Regions from separate parts of the Homo sapiens genome. Here region 1 is linked to region 2. Evidence: promoter capture Hi-C in human tissues and cell types (Jung and others, 2019). All regions are on one chromosome and are shown on one strand. The core of a region is centred on a gene start or on the middle of the fragment in contact, and the rest is flanking DNA. Distances in the headings are between cores, read along the strand shown.

Region 1 (6,952 bases), core at 889-3,388, 530 kb before region 2:
GCCCAGGACACACAGCGAGGAAGTGTCAGCGCTGGAATTTAAGCCCAGGCTCACCAAATACCACCCTCGCTCAGAAGGCCCCACCCCATCCCCAGCAGGCAGAGGGAGGACACAGCCAAGAGCGGGGCCAGCTCAACTGGGGAAGTCCAGGCAGAGAGGAGAGGTGGCCTCCCTCAGCCCCACCTCCAGCAGCTGAGGTCTGTAATGCACAGAGGGAGGGAGGCTGGGCTCCTGGGTTCTCCTCCCCTGAGTGACTCACTTCTACCCAAGGCACAGGGGTCACCTGAGGGCCAGCAAGGCAAACCCAGGACTCAGGGCCCTGGCCTGGCCTGTCCTATGGAGAACCCCTGCTCCTCCGCTGCCCACCATGGAGCGGAGACCTCAGACCCAGAGGACCTGCCTCCCATAATCCCCATCTTGCCAGAGCAGCCAGGGACCTAGACTCCCACATCCGGAGATTTCAATGCCTTGGGCGTTTCCGGAATCTGGACAGGACATCCGTTTGCAGGACACAGAACAGACAGGCACACGTTGGGACAGACAGAGGGACAGGGCAGCAGGCCCAAGCAACCATGAGAGAGGGATGACCAGGAGCGGGGAAGAGACTGGGGAGGAGATGGGAAGGGGGGACCAGGGCGTGGGTCCAGCCTCGTTGCAGGAATCACAGCCTGTCTGGGTCATGTGTGGGATGCGCCAAGCGCATGCATGCACCCGGGGATTCCTACACAGCCCTCCCTGGGCCGGGGGTAGAGGCAGGGACCCCGGCCCATCCCGGCCTTGAGGTCTGACCTTGTGTGATCGGCAACACCAGATACGCCCAGCTCCTCGGCAAGGCCGGCAGGCCATCAGCAGGACTGGGAAGGCGGGAGGGACCGGGGGTTACCGGGGAGACACAAAGGGGCCGGGGGCAGGTGCAGAAGGAGACGAGAACCCAGTTACACAACAACCACAGGACAATGAACTGGATGGTGAGGTGCTAATGGGGACACTGAGGCACAGACATTTCTCAGATTTGGGTCACTTGAACCAAAGAAGGTTGGCAGTCACCCTGGCCGTGCTTGTCACAGACGGGGAAGATGAGTCCAGGTCAGTGATCCCCACCAGGTGGCACAAGGGGAATCTGGCTGGGCGGGAGGCTGGTGCCAGTCACGTGTGTGTGTTAGCAGGGTGGGGGTGACCCAGCCATGCCCAGCCACCATGCAAAAAAGTAGGATTCTATATATGGGAGCATCCCTGGCCTGTTGACTGAGACACTCCCCACCCAGGAGAAGGTTCCACCTGACAGCCCAAGGGTGGGAGTGGGGGTCCCCATTCCCCCGACCTAATGCAGTGACTCGGGTACTTCCGCCAACAGGTGCCAATCTGGGTGGCGTCTGGAACATCATAAAGCTGTCTAGAGGCGGGGGTGGCTGGAGCTTTGTTATGCGGGGGAAGGGCACGGGCCGGGCCCAGCAGCCTCCTCCCCTCCCAGGGCACTGCGCCAGGCACGTGCCCCAGGTGGAGCGGCACCTGCCGGGTACCCAACCCTGGGGAGGGGGATGAGTTTGGGGGCGGACGAGAGGCACTGGGACGCCCAGCCAGCCACAGACACCCGAAGTAGAGCCTCCGCCGCGCCCCTTCTAGTTCTCCAGGAGAGGCCGAGTTTGAGGGTGTAGCAGGGGTTGCCTCCGGGATCGCCCCCAAACCAGCCCAGTCCACATCGCCACCTGCCGAGAAGGGGGCCTCGCTGGCTCCACAGTCCCGGCCCAGGGAGGGGGCGCCGGGCGCTCCGGAGGCCCCCGCCCTTGCCATCGTCACCCGAGTCCCGTTCCGGGGGCTGGGGGGGCTCCCCCGGCAGCGCGCGGGCGGGGTCCGCCGGCGCCGTCCGGTCGCCCCGGGACTCCAGACGCAGGTGCGCCTACCTGCACGGCGTCGCTGGCCATGTCCTCCTGCCGCCCGCCAGGGGTCCCCGCGCGGAGGGAGGGGCGGCCAGAGGAGCGCGCGTGCGCCCCGGGCGTGGCGGGGAGGGGGCGGGCGCGGCGCGACCCTCCCCGGCGCGCGGCCCGCTCCGGCCTGCTCGGCTCCCGCCTCGCCTGGCCAGGCCGCCGCGTCCCCGCGCCGCGCCCTCCGGCCCCAGCGGCCGCCGGGCCTGGTCACGTGACCCCGGAGGTCGGCGCCCGGGGAGGGGGCGGGGCCGAGGGGGGACGGGTTCCCAGAGGCCCCCGGGGCTGCGGGGTCCCGCCCGTCCGCCCCCTCGGTCTCCCGAGCCCGGAGCATCCCCATCGGCTCCCCACCTTTCCTCTTTCCGGGTCCCGAGACGACCGCACGCTGCCGAGGGGTCCCCCATTGGAGCGCGCGGGAACCCGAGGAGAACGGTTCCACGCGTTCAAGCCGAGAGCGGCGGAGGCCTTTGGGCCTCCCGGGACCCCTGAAAAAAACAAACAGAATAACCCCCCACCCCACCCTACCCCGGTGCATTTGCAAGCTCGGGACGCCTGCATCTGTGGTCCCCTATTCAAGGGCATGGAAGTTTCCCCGTTACCTGGAGACAAGCTCTGGGCGGATCTGCATTCAAATCCTAGCGCTTTACGCCTTGAGGGAGACAAACCCTTCCAGGCACCTCATCTGTGAAATGGGAATGATGCGCTCACCTCCTCGGTGTTGGTAAAATTCAATAAGACAGTGCAGGCCAAGAGCTGAGAACACACTAGACGCTCCATAAGTGTTAGCTGCTGTCACTTTTAATGTTATCGTAATTGTTTGTTTGTTGTTTTGCTATTTTTGGACGGAGTTTCGCTCTGTTGCCCATGCTGGAGTGCAGTGGCGCGATCTCGGCTCACTGCAACCTCCGCCTCCCGGATTCAAGTGATTCTTCTGCCTCAGCCTCCTGAGTAGCTGGGATTACAGGTGCCCACCACCATACCCGGCTAATTTTTGTATTTTTAGTAGAGACGGGGTTTCATCATATTGGCCAGGCTGGCCTCGAACTCCTGATCTCAGGTGATCCGCCCGCCTCGGTCTCCTAAAGTGCTGAGATTACACAGGCCTGAGCCACCGCGCCCAGCCTCTATTATCGTTATTGTTATTAAAAGAGGTTTGAATCCCAACTTGCTGTTCATCCTGGGGACCCCTGTGGCCTCTGAGTCTCAGTTTTCCCCGCTATAAAATGGGCATCGCCTTCTTTTTCGGGGCTGCTGCATGCAGATGGCGCTCCATAAATGCAGACTCGTGCCCAAGCGGAGAGTGGAGGCCTCTGCGGAATTTCTAGGGGATCTCCGGGGTCTGCAGAGCGTGCAGCTTTGTTCGTGGCCGCCGTCGGACCCTCACTCCTTCGGAAACCAGGCGAGGGAGCCAAACCTTGGTCTCCGGGGCTCCGGCAGGGAGCGCTCCCTGGCGGCGGTGCCTGCACATTGGCGCCCTTTGGGACCCGAGGAAGCGCCGTGGGCTGCGGGTACCTTGGTTACCCGTGGCTCTGCGTGGTTTCAGTCGTCCCAGAAACCAGGGCGCGATGTTTTCTCTCTTATTTTTTCCTCTGAGCAACTCTTTGGGAGATACTAACAACAGAAAGAGAGAAGGAGGAGAATTATGCTGATCCAGAACCCATCCAGCCGGGCATGGTGGCGCACGCCTGTAGTCCCAGCTACCAGGAGGCTGAGGCGGGAGGATCGCTTGAGCTCAAGAGGCCGAGAATGCATCACTGTGGGGAGAAATCATGATGCCCCTGCACTCCAGCCTGGGTGACAGAGCGAGACCCTGTCTAAAAAAAGAAAGAAAAAAAAAAACGGCTGGGTGCAGTGGCTCACCCCTGTAATCCCAGCCCTTTAGGAAGCCAAGGTGGGTGGTGGATGGATCACTGGAGGTCAGGAGTTCGAGACCAGCCTAGCCAATATGGTGAAACCCATCTCTGCTAAAAAATATAAAATTAGCTGAACGTGGTGGCGCATGCCTGTAATCCCAGCTACTCGGGTGGCTGAGGCAGGAGAATAGCTTGAACCCAAGAGGCGGAGATTGCAGTGAGCCGAGATCGTGCCATTGCACTCCAGCCTGAGCGACAGAGCAAGATTCCATCTAAAAAAAGAAAAAAGAGGGGGCCAGGTGTGGTGGCTCACGCCTGTAATCCCAGCACTTTGGGAAGCAGAGGCAGGCGGATCACGAGGTCAGGAGATTGAGACCATCCTGGCTAACATGGTGAAAGCGGCGGGCGCCTGTAGTCCCAGCTACTAGGGAGGCTGAGGCAGGAGAATGGCATGAACCCAGGAGGCGGAGCTTGCAGTGTGCCGAGATCGCGCCACTGCACTCCAGCCTGGGCGACAGAGCGAGACTCCCTCTCAAAAAAAAAAAAAAAAAGAGAAAGAAAACAACAACAACACACACACAAGCCCAGAATTCACCCACATTTCACCTTTCCACTTTGTCGCATCCAGTCCCTACCATCACTCACCTTAACCAGTAGTCACCTCTCTCCTGGTCTCCTGGTTTTGCCCTCGCCCCCACAGTCTGTTCCCACAACAGCCCAAGGGAGCAGTGAACACATGAGATGGGGTATGCCCCTCCTCTGTCTAGAACCCTCCATGGCTCCCAGCTCACTCAGGGAAAAAACTCAGGTCCTCCCCACAGCCCACGAAGCTCTGCACCATCAGTTCTTACTTCCTCCCATCTCTCCCCCTTGCTCACTCCTTCCAGCCACATGAGCCTTCTAACTGTTTCTCAAATGCTTGTTGATTGAATAAAAGAAAGAACTCTGTGGCTGGGCGCAGTGGCTCCCACCTGTAATCCCAGCAATTTAGGAGGTCAAGGGGGGTGAATCACTTGAGGCCAGGAATTCGAGACCAGCCTGGCCAACATGGTGAAACCCCATCTCTACTAAAAATTAAAAAATTAGCCAGGTGTGCTGGCGGGCATCTGTATATTCAGCTACTTGAGAGACTGAGGCAGGAGAATGGTTTGAACCTGGGAGGCGGAGGTTGCAGTGAGCCAAGATCGCACCCCTGCACACCCCCCTGGGTGATAGAGCAAGACTGTCAGAAAGAAAGAAAGAGAGAGAGAGAGAGAGAGAGAGAGAGAGAGGAAGGAAGGGAGGGAGGGGAAGGGAGAAAAAGAAAAGAGAAAAGAAAAGAACTCATGGCCAGGCATGGTGGCTCACGCCTGTCACCCCAGCACTTTGGGAGGCCCAGACGAGCAGATCACGAGGTCAGGAGATCGAGACCATCCTGTCTAACACGATGAAACCCCATCTCTACTAAAAATACAAAAAATTAGCCGGGCGTGGTGGCGGGCGCCTGTAGTCCCAGCTACTCGGGAGGCTGAGGCAGGAGAATGGCGTAAACCTGGGAGGCAGAGGTTGCAGTGAGCTGAGATCACGCCACTGCACTCCAGCCTGGGGGACAGAGCGAGACTCCAGCCTGGGGGACAGAGCGAGACTCCCTCTCAAAAAAAAAAAAAAAAAAAAAACAAAAAAAAACTCTGCAAGCTAGTTCTTTCATATTTATTTATTTATTTGTTTGTTTGTTTGTTTAGACAGAATTTCGCTCTCGTTGCCCAGGCTGAAGTGTGATGGCACGATCTCAACTGAACGCAACCTCTGCCTCCCTGATTCAAGCAATTCCCAGCCTTAGCCTCCTGAGTAGCTGGAATTACAGGCATGTACCACCACACCCGGCTAATTTTGTATTTTTAGCAGACATGGGGTTTCTCTACATTGGGCAGGCTGGTCTCGAACTCCTGACCTCAGGTGATCTGCCCACCTTGGCCTCCCAGAGTGCTGGGATTACAGGTGTGAGCCACCGCGCCCAGCCTGATATTTATTTATTTAGAGACAGGGTCTCACTCTGTCACTCAGGCTGGGGTGCAGTGGCGCCATCGCAGCTCACTGCAGCTTCCACCTTGCAGGTTTAAACGATCCTCCTGCCTCAGCCTCCCAGGTAGCTGGGACCACAGGTGTGCACCACCATGTCTGGCTAGTTTTTTCAAAAAATTTTTTTGTGTGTGTGTAGATACTGGATCTCGTAATATTGCCCAATCTGGTCTTGAACTCCTGGGCTCAAGCAATTCTTCTGCATTGGCCTCCTGAAATGCTGGGATTACAGGCATGAGCCATCAAGCTTGGCCCAAACTAGTTCTTTTGCTCCAGTTTTGCAGGTGAGTAAGCTGAGAAGTCCCTTACCCCAATCATCAAGCCAGGATGTCTATGGCCCTTTCCCTGAGAAACGAAGTAGCTCCCTCTAATTCTCCAGCCCACCCATTCTACAGATGAGGAGGACAAGGCAGAGTGAGGTTTCATGGGGGCCGAAGGATTGGGTTGTCTGGAACCACCTTGCACAGGGATGGGCCCTCCCTCCCCAACCTGTGAGGTCCCAGGCTGCCTCCCCAGATGGAGCTGGGGAAACCAGCCAAATTCTCGCTCCACCCTTCAGGCATTCATTTACTCAGTGAATATTTACAGAGACCCACTGGGGAATTTGGTGGCACTGGAGATAAAGTTGCAGTTCAGGCCTTTTTTTTTTTTTTGGAGACAAAGTCTCATTCTGTCACCCAGGCTAGAGTGCAGTGGGTGAGATCACAGCTCACTGCAGCGCAGCCTCAACCTCCCAGGTTCAAGTCATCCTCCCACCTCAGCCCCTTGAGTAGCTGGGACTGCAGGCATGCACTACCATGCCCAGCTAATTCTTTTTTTTTTTTTTTTTTTTTTTTTTTTGCAGAGATGAAGTCTCACTGTGTTGCCCAGGATGGTCTTGAACTCCTGGCCTCAAGTGATCCTCCCGCCTCGGCCTCCCAAACTGCTGGGATTACAGTTATGAGCCACCACGTCCAGCCACACTTTGTTTGCTAAAAGGGGAGACGTGGCCAGGTGTGGTGGCTCAAGCCTGTAATCCCAGCACTTTGGGAGGCCGAGGTGGGTGGATCACCTGAGATCAGGAGTTTGAGACCAGCCTGGCCAACATGGTGAAACCCCATCTGTACTAAAAATACAAAA
Region 2 (6,825 bases), core at 697-3,196:
GTAATCCCAGCTACTCGGGAGGCTGAGGCAGGAGAATCGCTTGAACCCGGGAAGCGGAGGTTGCAGTGGGCCGAGATTGCGCCACTGCACTCCAGCCTGGGGCGAGAGAGCAAGACTCTGTCTCAAAAACAAACAAACAAAAAAAGAACCCCTAACCACAATGCAGGTTTGCCATGCAGACCCGTCTTCCTATCTTGGCTAATGACCAATCATGATGTGATAACATCGTGTTTAACCATATGAAATTGCCTTTCCTGTAGGTAAAAAATGGCCAAATATTGGCAATTATGTATGGTTCCACCAACTAGTAATAATGATAATAGTAACATTTATTGAGTGCTATGTTCTAGCACTTTCCATAAACTATCTCAATGACTCTCTACAACTGTCCTGTAATGTAGGGTCTCTTGGAGGTCTCCATTTTTAATTTTTTATTTATTTATTTATTTTCAGAAGGAATTTATTTATTTATTTTGAGAAGGAGCCTTGCTCTGTCACCCAGTCTGGAATGCAGTGGCGCGATCTCAGCTCACTGCAACCTCCGCCTCTCGGTTCAAGCGATTCTCCCACCTCAGCCTCCCGAGTAGCTGGGATTACAGGTGCCCGCCACCATGCCCAGCTAATTTTTGTATTTTTAGTAGAGATGGGGTTTCGCCATGGCCTCCCAAAGTGCTGGGATTACAGGTGTGAGACACCACCCCGGACTTCCATTTTTAATTTTTTATCTTTATTTTAGAGAAAGAGTCTTGTTCTGTCACCCAGGCTGGAGCAGAAGTAGCGCAATCATAGCTCACTGCGGTCTTGAACTCCTGGGCTCAAGCAATCCTCCCTTCTTAGCCTCCCAAGTAGTAGTACTACAGGCACATGCCACCATGCCCAGTTAGTCTTTTTTTGTCGAGACGGGGGTCTTGCTTTTGCCCAGGCTGGTCTCAAACTCTGGCCTCAAATGACTCTCCCACCTCTGCCTCCGCCTCCATCTCCTGAAGTGCTGGGATTATAGAGATCTCCATTTTACAGATGAGAAAGCTGAGGCTCAGAGCTGTAAAGTCAAGTGTCCGATGTACAGAGGCCAGGAGGGAACTTCAGGTCAGCCAGACTCTAATATCTGAACACCAAGCTATGTCCTGGGCTCCTTCCATCAAAACTGAGAAAAATCAAACTATCTGGTGCCTGGGGCAAAGAAGTCGGGAGAGTGAGAAGGGGTCCAGCCACAGTGCCATAAGCTTATGGCTGCAGCCCTGGATTTGTGCTTAGCCCTGGCCAAGCTGTTAATCCCTATGACCTTGGGCAGATGTCTTCACGTCTCTGAGTCTCAAAGTCCTCATCTGTACAATGGAATAAAAAGAGTCTGACATGGCCCGACTGATGCAAGGGTTTGATGTGTCAAGTCCGAGGACTGCCCCTCCTCGACTGGAGCAGCTGTGGCAACAGGTGGCCCCGAACCCGGGGCAGGGCCCCAGGAGCTGGGGAGCCAAGGCCAGTAGGCCACACTTGGGTGGTGTTGGAGCCTCACCTGGGGGGAGGCGGGGACCGGGGCTTACCTGTGGGGCGGAGATCGGGCTTCCCTGGGGGGTGGGGCCCTTCCCTGAGCGAGTGACGGGGGTGGGGAGGGATCCCCAGGTCGGGCCGTGGGGCGCAAACTCACCTGGCGGGCGGCCGCGGCGCCTCTGCCCGGGGGTCCCGGGGGTCCTTTCCTCTTGTGCATCTTCAAGGCTGGATGCCCGGACCACCTGCCCCCAAGCCCGGCCTTGCCCTGCCTCCTTCCCCGGGCTCTGTCGCCGCGCACTCGCCCTTCCTGAGTCCTGCACTCCTCGTCGGCGCCCCGCGGCCGTCGATCCCGAGCCCTCGCTTCCCTGCTTGGCCGTCCCACTTCCGCCTCGGGCCTCGGGCGCCGCCGCACCGGAGCGCGGCCACTGGGCTCGCCGGGTCTGCCGAGCCGAAACTACAACTCCCGGCAGGTAGTGCGTGGGCGCGCAGGCGCCTGGCTGGGGCGGTGCTGACTGTCGCGGGCTGCGAGGGCGGTGTTTGCGTCGCTCATGCGCGGGGCGGGACCTCGCGGGGCGCGGGAAAGAGGCAGAGCGCGCGCAGGTGTGAGGGGCGGCGACATCTGTGGGGTTCAGAGCGTCTGTCAGTCACCGACGGGCTCCGGCTTCACGTGGGCTCTCGGCCTGTGGAGTCCTCACTTCTCGGTGGTCGGCGTAGTGTCAGTGTGGGGCTTGTCACCGGGAGCGGGGTCTACAGCGCCCACCCTCAGGCCTTTCCATCTTTCACCTCCGGACTCGAGGCCTCCAGCGTTCTGTGAGGGCCAATTTGGCCATTTATTTTTTCCAAAAAGAGTAACGCGGATAATTCAAGCGACTTATTCCCAACTGATCCAGGCAGAGCTCGTTTCTGATAAGGACAGAGGGTCCTCAACGACTTCTGTGGCCCAGGTCCGTTCTGGTTTGCCTCGCCCCCAAGGCTGGGAGAAACCGGCCTATGGCAGCTCTTTCCCCTCCAAGGACCCAGCTGTCCCCTTTAAAGTGGCACGATCTTGGCTCATTGCAACCTCTGCCTCCTGGCCTTGTACCACAGCCTCCTGAGTAGCTGGGATTACGGGTGTGTGCCACCGCACCTGACTAATTTTTTTTTTTTTTTTTGAGACGGAGTCTCGCTCTGTCGCCCAGGCTGGAGTGCAGTAGAGCGATCTCGGCTCACTGCAACCTCTGCCTCATGGGTTCAAGGAATTCTACTGTCTCAGCCTCCCAAGTAGCTGGGATTACAGGTGTGCGTCACGATGCCCAGGCTAATTTTTGTGTTTTTAATAGAGAGGGGGTTTCACCATATTGGCCAGGCTGGTCTCCAGAGGCCCCTGGAGAGTCCTCAAGTGTCCTTGGAAGGGCCCCCAGATACCCCAGTCTGGAGGGAGGGGCTTCACACAGGCTGTTTCATCCTAGGGACCAGAGTCTGGGTCCCCGGGGCTATCTATAAGGACCCCCCAGGGCCCATTTGTCTTTCAGGTCCTGGGCATAAGATCTTCAGTTTGGAGGAGGTTTGAATTCCTACCTGGCCATGGCCCAAAGTGGCTGTGACTCTGTGTCCCATCCTGTGTCCCAGTGGGAGCCATCTGACCCCTGGGGCAGCCAAATGGGCTGAGGTGGAGGTAGGGGTAACCTCTGCTCTCAGCCAAAGCCACTGGATATAAACAGAGACAGAGACTGCTTATAATGATGAGAGATTTTGCTTGTTTTCAGATTTCTCAAGGGGAAGATAAAATGACTAAGAGGAAGAAGCTGCGGACCTCAGGTACGTTCATTCAAATGGACACTTGTTGATTTCTGCTTCTGCTTGTGGGAAGAATGTGGGCTTGTTTATTGCAGATCTGGCTAACACGACTGCCTTAACCTCCTTAAAAGGAAGCAAGGATTGGCCGGGTGCGGTGGCTCACACCTGTAATCTCAGCACTTTGGGAGGCCGAGGCGGGCAGATCACAAGGTCAGGAGTTCAAGACCAGCCTGACCAACATGGTGAAACCCCGTCTCTACTAAAAATACAAAAATTAGCCAGGTGTTGTGGCACATGCCTGTAGTCCCACCTACTCGGGAGACTGAGGCAGGAGAATCGTTTGAACCTGGGAGTCCGATGTTGCAGTGAGCCAAGATGGTGCCACTGCACTCTAGCCTGGGCAACAGAGCAAGACTCTGTCTCAAAAAAAAGAAAAAGACAAAAAGGATTTAATTCATGCTGGTAAGAAAAATAGAAGGCCGGTGTGGTGGCTCACGCCTGTAATCCTAGCACTTTGGGAGGCCGAGGTGGGCGGATCGCTTGAGTCCAGGAGTTCAAGACCAGCCTGGGCAACATAGCGAGATCCTGTCTCTACAATGTAAAGTAAGGAAATTAGCTGGGCGTGGTGGCAGGCACCTGTAGTCCCAGCTACTCAGGAGGTTGAGGCAGGAAGATTGCTTGAACTGGGAGGTGGAGGTTGCAGTGAATCCAGATCGTACCACTGCACTCCATCCTGACTGATAGATTGAGGCCCTGTCTCAAAAAAAAAAAGAAAGAAAGAAAAATAGAAATAACGGAGAGGGCATACAGGAAAAGTAAAAGTGAAAGTTTTCTGGAGCTTCTGCAAGCCTCTGGTGGGGTCCCACAGCTTAGAGGAGGCCTCCCCGGGCTTCAGGGCAGCGGGACAGCCTCCCTGCGGAACCAGTCCCAGAGATGACCCCTGGAATAATGCTTGATGTACTACAAGGCCACTCGGTATGTGGCTGAGTGTTTTACTCTGGGGCCCAAAACCTGGGTTCATCCCAGTTCTGCTCAGTGTGTGGTGGTGGATGATTTCCTCTGTGCCACAGTTTCCCCTTTTGTAAATTGGGGATAATAAAAGCCACTACCCTTTCCTTTAGAGCAGTGTTTCTCAACTAGGTGAGAGGAAGGGATTTTGACCTCCAGAGACAGCTGGCAATGTTTGGAGACTTTATTTTTTTTTTTTTTGGAGACCAAGTCTGACTCTGTCGTCCAGGCTGGAGTGCAGTAGCAAGATCTTGGCTCACTGCAGCCTCCACCTCCTGGGTTCAAGCGATTCTGCAGCCTCAGCCTCCTAAGTAGCTGGGACTACAGATGTGCACCACCACGCCCGCCTAATTTTTGTATTTTTAGTAGGGATAGGGTTTCACAATGTTGGCCAGGCTGGTCTCAAACTCCTGACCTCAGGTGATCTGCCTGCCTCAGCCTCCCAAAGTGCTGGGATTACAGGTGGGAGCCACCGTGCCCGGCCTAGAGACTTTTTTTGGTTTTCATAACTGGGGAAATTATACTGACATCTAGTGGGTGGAGGCCAGGGATGCTGCTCAAATATCCTACCATGCATAGGATGCCCCCCAGCCACAGAGAATGATCCAGCCCCAAATGTCCTCCAAGGTGAAGAATCCTGCCCTTAGAGCTCACATGTGGATTAGTATCTGTAAAGCACCCAGAACTGACCTAAGGTAGTACACAAATGTACACTGCTGTTAACAATTCTTCTTCCAGACTTTTAAGAAAACTTTTATTTTGAAGTAATCTGGGACTTAAAGAAAAGTTGCAAAAATAATTCAGAGAGTTCTAGCTACCCTTCTCCAAGCTTTCCCTAATGTTGACATCTAGCATAGCCATAGGACAGTGATCAACTGTAGAACAGCATGAAAAACAGGACAGGACTCTAACCTCGGTACACTGCTTCTAGACTTTTTTTTTTTTTTTTGAGACGGAGTTTCGCTCTTGTTGCCCAGGCTGGAGTGCAGTGGCGCGATCTCGGCTTACTGCAACCTCCACCTCCCAAGTTCAGGCGATTCTCCTGCCTCAGCCTCCCAAGTAGCTGGGATTACAGGCACCCACCACCATGCTGAGCTAATTTTTGTATTTTTTTAGTAGAGTCAGGGTTTGGTCAGGCTGGTCTTGAACTCCCAACCTCAGGTGATCTGCCCGTCTTGGTGTCCCAAAGTGCTGGGGATACAGGAGTAGGCCACCGCGCCCAGCCCAGACTTTTTTGTTTTTGTTTTTGAGACAGAGTCTTGATCTTGTTGCCCAGGCTGGCGCGATCTCGGCTCACCGCAACCTCTGCCTCCTAGATTCAAGCAATTCTCCTGCCTCAGCCTCCCAAGTAACTGAGATTACAGGCATATGCCACCATGCCCAGCTAATTTTTTTGTATTTTTAGTAGAGATGGGGTTTCTCCATGTTGGTCAGGCTGGTCTCGAACTCCCAACCTCAGGTGATCCGCCCATCTCGGCCTCCCAAAGTGCTGGGATTACAGGCATGAGCCAGCGCGCCCAGCTCAGACTTTTTTTTAAGATGATGTCTCACTCTGTTGCCCAGACTGGAGTGCAGTGGCACGATCTTGACTCACTGCAGCCTCCGCCTCCTGGTTTCAAGCGATTCTCTTGCATCAGCCTCCTGAGTAGCTGGGATTACAGGTGTCTGCCACCACGCTCAGATAATTTTTGTATTTGTAGTAGAGATGGGGTTTCACCATGTTGCCCAGGCTGATCTTGAACTCCTGGCCTCACATGATCTGCCCGCCTCAGCCAAAGTGCTGGGATTACTGGAGTGAGCCACCATACCCAGCTTTTTTTTTTTTCTTTTTTTCGAGACAGAGTCTTGCTTTGTCGCCCAGGCTGGAGAGCAGTGGCACAATCATAGCTCGCTGCAGCCTCGACCTCCCCAGGCTCAGGTGATCTTCCCACCTCAGCCTCCGGAATAGCTGGGACTACAGGTGTGTGCCACCATGACTGGCTAATTTTTGTATTTTTTGGAAGAGACGAGGCCTCACTATGTTGCCCAGGCTGGTCTTGAACTTCTGGGCTCCAGCAGTCCACCTGCCTTGGCCTCCCAATGTGCTCAGAATTACAGGCATGAGCCACCATGCCTGGTCAGACTTTTTCTGTATATATACAGATACAGTGTTGAGCTTTTTTCTTTTTTTTTTTTTTGGAGACAGTCTCACTCTGTCACCCAGGCTGGAGTGCAGTGGCACGATTTTGGTTCACTGTAACCTCTGCCTCCTGGGTTCAAGTGATGCTCATGCCTCAGCCTCCTGAGTAGCTGGGATTACAGGTACCTGCCACCATGCCTGGCAAATTTTTGCATTTTTAGTAGAGACGGGGTTTCACCATGTTGGCTAGGCTGCTCTCTAACTCCTGACTTCAAGTTATCCGCCTGCCTCAGCCTCCCAAAGATTACAGGCATGAGCCACCGTGCCTGGCCCAGATAAAATGTTTTTATTGGAAAATCGAATCATCACACTTACTGATCTGCAACCTCCATTTTTCACTTTGTGGTAGATCATGACCATGTTTACTTGTCAAC

Evidence for each region. Contacts are between HindIII fragments. The study calls those that stand out against the background at their distance.
Region 1: the fragment with the promoter of PKN1 here is called in contact with the fragment with the promoter of CC2D1A in region 2 in 3 of the 25 tissues and cell types used here (dorsolateral prefrontal cortex, lymphoblastoid cells and spleen).

Annotation. Positions count from the first base shown.
Region 1 is chr19:14,428,492-14,435,443 of GRCh38, reverse strand. PKN1 (protein kinase N1) reads right to left here and starts at 2,138. Exons shown (of 22, transcript NM_002741.5): 1 at 1,902-2,138. The coding sequence starts at 1,922. RefSeq lists enhancers at 53-347, 1,098-1,670, 1,671-2,244, 3,119-3,398 and silencers at 1,409-1,518, 1,809-1,878, 2,049-2,388. The HindIII fragment of the contact is 61,187 bases long and covers 1-6,952 here.
Region 2 is chr19:13,901,322-13,908,146 of GRCh38, reverse strand. CC2D1A (coiled-coil and C2 domain containing 1A) reads right to left here and starts at 1,946. Exons shown (of 29, transcript NM_017721.5): 1 at 1,646-1,946. The coding sequence starts at 1,705. It overlaps BRME1 (break repair meiotic recombinase recruitment factor 1), which reads left to right and starts at 2,030. Exons shown (of 9, transcript NM_001345843.2): 1 at 2,030-2,432; 2 at 3,234-3,285. The coding sequence starts at 3,255. RefSeq lists a silencer at 1,572-1,631. The HindIII fragment of the contact is 13,583 bases long and covers 1-6,825 here.